2 separate regions of the Homo sapiens genome follow, and region 1 is linked to region 2. Evidence: promoter capture Hi-C in 16 types of primary human blood cells and fetal thymus (Javierre and others, 2016). All regions are on one chromosome and are shown on one strand. The core of a region is centred on a gene start or on the middle of the fragment in contact, and the rest is flanking DNA. Distances in the headings are between cores, read along the strand shown.

Region 1 (2,700 bases), core at 192-2,691, 670 kb after region 2:
TGCTGCTGCCTCTGGGAGCCTAGATGGGGAGGAGAATTAGGAACCTGAAGGGGGAGGGGCAGTGAAGAAGCCATCATCGCAGATACAGCTAAAAATAGCTGGAAGAGATGATGTCATCTGGTTCCCACAGCTTAGCACCCCCATCATACACACACTCGAGCACAAACACACACTCTCACAGACACAGATACACACAGACACAAGTGTGGGCATGAGTGCATGCACACACACATACTACACACTCATATAGGGGAGGGAGGCTTCTGGGTCCCAGGGCCGCAGGGGCAGGGAAGTCTGGTGAGTGTGTCTGCATGCGTGTATGTCTGTGTGTGCCTGGGTTTGCATGAGTGTGAAGGCATGTGTCTGCATCTGGGTGCTTGTGTGCTTGTGTCTGGGTGCATGCATGTTTCTGTCTGTGTTCATTTAGAGGCATGCGTATGTGTTGTTACATATATCGTGTGGGGATCTATGCATTTGTGTCTGCGTATATCTGCTTATAGTATGTGCTTGCATGCATGTGTGTGGTTGTTGCAGTATGTGTCTATGAGTTCACTTATATTTACATGTCTGCATGTGTTTGTGAACTGTGTCATGTATCTTTATATGTATGGCCCCTCTTGGGCCCTTGAGCATGGCCCAAGCACCTTCTAGCTTTGACTGATGTTCAGCAACCCCCATCCCATAACCTGAGGAGCCCAGCACCGTCTGGGCATGGTGTGTCAGTGAATTCTCTGCCTCAACCCCCCTCAGGGTCCCAGTCTCTGGCAAGAGTTGGGGTAGATAGACATAAGCACAATTCACTTTCCCTTCACAGGCAGCAAAGGACATTAGCCACACTTCCTGAACCCCAGGGGGCCAGGCCACCAAAGGTCTCAGGGTTCACTCCCTTCCCTAGCCCCTTGGGAAGGTAGCCTGGAAATGCAGCCAGATCTCGGACCGGTGCAACACGTATTAGCCCATGCATGATGCAACATATTCGAGACAGAGTCCTACAAAATGTTCCCAGCGACTAAGACACAACCCCACAGAAACCCGGTTACAGCCAGTGACACATGAGCACACACTCAGAAATCCAAATGGAAAATCCCCAGGCCAGAGAGCTTAGCACCCTCCCTACTTTCTGGGCTCAAACTCAGTCTTGCCCCACCCCTAAGCACCCCAGCTCAGCTGCCAGTTCTGGAAAACACTGACCTCAGAGAATGGTTGAAGGGCCGAAGGTAGTATGCCTTTCTCAGAATCTCACCCTTCTCCATGTTCTCCTCCTTTAGGCTGTTCCCCATCCCCCTCCTGACCTTCACTTTTCTTACCAGGGCTGATGTCCTCTCCGGCACACCCATACCCTCACAAACGCTCCTTGACACTCACAGTCAGTCACAGAGGCACATTAAATCACAAAGGCACATTCAGCCACATCTACTGATACTCCTATTCTCCCGGCCTCAGACACACACACCAGCAGCTACACCTACACGCTGACCATCACAGGCACACAGAGGCACATCCACCTCACATCCACCTCATACTTGTGTACTCTCAGGGTTCAGTCTTTCATCCTATCCCTCTCTGATCTGTGCCTCCCAATACCTTCCAAGATGTTTACAGAGACCCTTCTCCCTGTGCAGTTAGGAGTGTAAGGCAAGAGAGCCCCTACTTCATGGGGCAGATCAAGAGCTGAGACCAAAGATGGTCTATGTTGCTGACCTTGTCCTGTCCTCCTGCTGTCTTAAACTATGATCCCTGCTGCGGTCACTGAAGCCTTTCCCTGTAAGTATTCAGCCATAACCCTCCCCTCACGCCCTGCATAGTCAGCTGGTTAACACCTCTGTGTGGAATAAGGCAGTTTGAGCAGAATGACTGTATTTGTTGTTCACCACCCACACGGCCCCTAGGAGATGCAGGTCCAGGGCAAACCAAGCTTCTGGGCTAGCTTCTGGGCACTTCTAGAGGATCAGAAAAATCCCAGGTTGCCTGAGATGTCTGAGAACTGAGGAGAGGAAGGAGAGGGAAGAGTTTGAGGAAGGAAGCAGTTCTGGAAGTTCCCTGCCTCTTGGATTCAGCCCCTCCCCAAACCCTCTGCTTCCAGCCAATCCATCCTCCATTAAGGCTGTCAGCACTTTGGGGTGCCTGCCATCAGGAGTCCCCCATATATGTAGGGGTGCTATTTCACAGAGATCATCCTTTGGCGTGCCTAAACAGAACCAGGTAGGGAAATCTTCACTGGCTCTGGTTTTTTTTTTTTTTTCTTGAGACAGAGTCTAGCTCTGTCACCCAGGCTGGAGTGCAGTGGCGCGATCTTGGCTCACTGCAACCTCTGCCTCCCGGGTTCAAGCAATTCTCCTGCCTCAGCCTCCCAAGTAGCTGGGACTAAAGGCGTGTGCCACCACGCCCGGCTAATTTTTTTTTGTATTTTTAGTAGAGATGGGATTTCACCGTGTTAGCCAGGATGGTCTCGATCTCCTGACCTTGTGATCTGCCCGCCTTGGCCTCCCAAAGTGCCGGGATTACAGGCATGAGCCACCGCACCCAGCCTAGTGGCTCTGTTTTTTAAAACCCCACCCTGGCTCACAGGCCCCCTGGCTAACCTTGAGGTGGGAAGATCCACACTATGGTGGTGTCAGTGTGGGTGTTGTTGATACCCATGGCCCTGGTGGCAGGATTGATGGCTGCACTGCTGGCAGTTCGACCTCGGAGACCCTGTTG
Region 2 (2,700 bases), core at 101-2,600:
TCTTACACAAACATCACATATACACACCAAGGATTCCAAGCCTCACCTGAGCCTGACATTGAAATTAGGATCAGAGAATAGCAACCTCACCCCAGAGAGAGGATGGGCTCTAGGACTCAGGGCAGCTCAGCCTTTGTGGAACTATGGGAGTCTCTAAAGCCCAAGGCTGTTGAGCTTGGACTCCTGACTGCAGAGGCAAGTGATGAGAGGAAATCCAGGTCCCAGCCAGGTCCCCGGCTGAGGAAATAAGGAAGGGTTAAGTGCAGGGTCTGTGTGGGGAAACAGAGTTCAGGAAAGGACAGAGTTGGAATTTGGAAGGAATAATGGATGATACGGGCACTGGAGGAAGGCACAGAAAGAGAAAGGGCTTGGAAGTAGAAAGAGACATTACTTACCTGCGGTGGAGACCCCAAGAAGATACAGCCACTGCTACAGAAGAAACAGATGCACAGGCCAATGAGCTCTGTGGAGACCCCAAGAGGATACAGCCACTGCTACAAAAGAAACAGATGCACAGGCCAATGAACTCTGAGAGTCCCTTAGCCTCCCCACGCAAACTGGGGACCTCCACCAACCCCTCACCTTATTCCGGACCACATTTCCATCAGTAGCGTTGAGAAGCACATCCAGCTGCTCAAACCAGCTGAGGCTCGTATTCATATCCTGTGGCAGGGGAGCGGCAGGGGTCTGGCTCCCTGGTGTCTTGTGCTTGCTCTCCTAGCGGGGGATACCCAAGGTATCCCCAGGAAAGGCCACCACGTTAGATGGAAAGAGGGAAGTGGGGATGCAACACTGGGGTAGGTGGATGCACTATCAGACCAAAACTGCGATCCTGTGACTAGGGAAAGGAAGGACGCTCTTGGGGAACTGGGGGAAAAGCGGGATACCGTGATGATACGCAGATATCAGGTGGGGATTGAAGGTGCCAGAACCTGGTTGAGACCTCCCCAGAAGTAGTACACTGGCGCCACCACGCCAAACCTGTGCCAGTGACAACTGCCGCCGCCGGGTTCAAAACTTCGGGTTGGTTTTGAAAGTCCGACTTTGGACTGGCTGCCGCAGCGCCACCTGGGAAACTGAGGTCGCCTCTTGCGAACACAACCGGCGATGGAGGCGGTGGAACTACCTTTCTCTAGAAGAGACACGTACATGCACACCCCCACCGTGTAGCTTGCCGGGAAACTGAGTCTTCCTGATTTCGTGTGGCTGTCTCCAAGGAGGAAACGAACTACGCATCCCAAGATGCATCGCGCATAGGCAATATGGTCCCGCTACTGGACCCATTTCCTACCTGGGAAATGGAGTCGAAGCTGACTCAAAACGTAACGGCCCAATTGTCCTTGAGACTTCATTCCCCAGCAAGCTCAGCGTGTAACGTGCGCTATGGAGCCGAAAGTCGCAGAGCTGAAGCAGAAGATCGAGGACACGCTATGTCCTTTTGGCTTCGAGGTTTACCCCTTCCAGGTTAGTTTATCCCTCCTGCTGTTCTAGGGCGAAATATATGATTGGCTTCGTTGCAACTGGCGTGAGGCCTCGGGAGCCTCTGATCCTCCTGGGTTCCTGCAGCCCAGTGTCCATGTGACAACAGGGACAGAGTTTCAGTGGGGGCTTGGGTTAAAAAGGTAGTGGTCGAGGCCGGGCATGGTGGCTCACGCCTGTAATCCCAGCACTTTGGGAGGCCGAGGCGGGCGGATCACCTGAGGTGAGGAGTTCGAGACCAGCCTGGCCAACATGGTGAAACCCCATCTCTACTAAAAATATAAAATTAGCCGGGCGTGGTGGTGCATGCCTGTAATCCCAGCTACTCGGGAGGCTGAGGCAGGACAATTGCTTGAACCCATGAGACGGAGGTTGCAGTGAGCCGAGATTGCGCCATTGCAGTCCAGCCTGAGCAACAAAGAGCGAAACTCCGTGTCAAAAAAAAAAAAAAAAAAAAAAGTTGTCGCATGTTTAACCTTTTGCCACCATATAATGCCGGATTCGTTAACGGGAGACACCATATGACCTGTAGCGTGTGTGGCTCAGATTGTCACCTATATAATTTACAAGAAGAAAGGGACCTGTGAGGCAAAGTCACCTTGGAACTTCCTAAAGGATTTAGGAGAGGGCAAAGCCTAGAAGGTTTGCATAGCTATCATTTAGGTCAGCTGAGGAAGGAAGGGCATTCCTGGTGATGAACAGGCAAACAATTGGCTGGTTTGTTCCCTCTACCAACAGAAGGATAATTCATGATATTTCCAGTCATCAGTGCTGGGCTGGGTAATGAAACTTTGTACACTTGCCTGGCACAGCAGTCTCAGCACCGCACCCCGACCCCCATTTACACGGTTACATTTCCCCACATCAGTGCCCTGTGCACTGAGCAGTTAAGTTACAAAGCTAAATCAGCTCAGCTTGAGCCCTTTGCCTGATGCTTAAGAGACTACCCACTTCCCATTCCTTCTGCTGAGTGGCTCACAGCAGTCCTGGGAGAGGATATAGAGGGAGAAGTAGGTTGGGTCTAGCTTGAGACTGGTCTTGCCAGAAAAAATGGAATTGAGCTATATATGAAAAGATAGATTGGAAGGAAGGAGGGTTATGTACATCCCAAATATCAGAAAAAGCTTGAGTAAAGGTGTGGAGATAGTGGTGTGGTGTTACCAAGTAAAAGGGCTTGATGCCTGATGTGCTGGAAGCTAATATTATGACACTGGGTTTTTG

What was found. Contacts are between HindIII fragments. The CHiCAGO score rates a contact against its expected background, and 5 or more counts as called.
Region 1: a contact is called between the fragment with the promoter of TSPAN1 here and the fragment with the promoter of MMACHC in region 2, in 1 of 17 cell types (fetal thymus). The highest score is 6.6, in fetal thymus.

The regions. Positions count from the first base shown.
Region 1 is chr1:46,173,646-46,176,345 of GRCh38, forward strand. It overlaps TSPAN1 (tetraspanin 1), which reads left to right and starts at 1,442. Exons shown (of 9, transcript NM_005727.4): 1 at 1,442-1,764. It overlaps P3R3URF-PIK3R3 (P3R3URF-PIK3R3 readthrough), which reads right to left. Exons shown (of 10, transcript NM_001303427.2): 1 at 2,583-2,700. It overlaps P3R3URF (PIK3R3 upstream open reading frame), which reads right to left. Exons shown (of 2, transcript NM_001328655.2): 1 at 2,583-2,700; 2 at 1,841-1,984. The coding sequence ends at 1,941. It also overlaps a transcript of PIK3R3 not described here. The HindIII fragment of the contact is 4,826 bases long and covers 1-1,913 here.
Region 2 is chr1:45,498,950-45,501,649 of GRCh38, forward strand. It overlaps MMACHC (metabolism of cobalamin associated C), which reads left to right and starts at 1,351. Exons shown (of 4, transcript NM_015506.3): 1 at 1,351-1,464. The coding sequence starts at 1,384. It overlaps CCDC163 (CCDC163 homolog), which reads right to left and starts at 1,124. Exons shown (of 5, transcript NM_001102601.3): 1 at 583-1,124; 2 at 396-494. The coding sequence starts at 660. RefSeq lists enhancers at 1,064-1,596, 1,146-1,345. The HindIII fragment of the contact is 9,755 bases long and covers 1-2,601 here.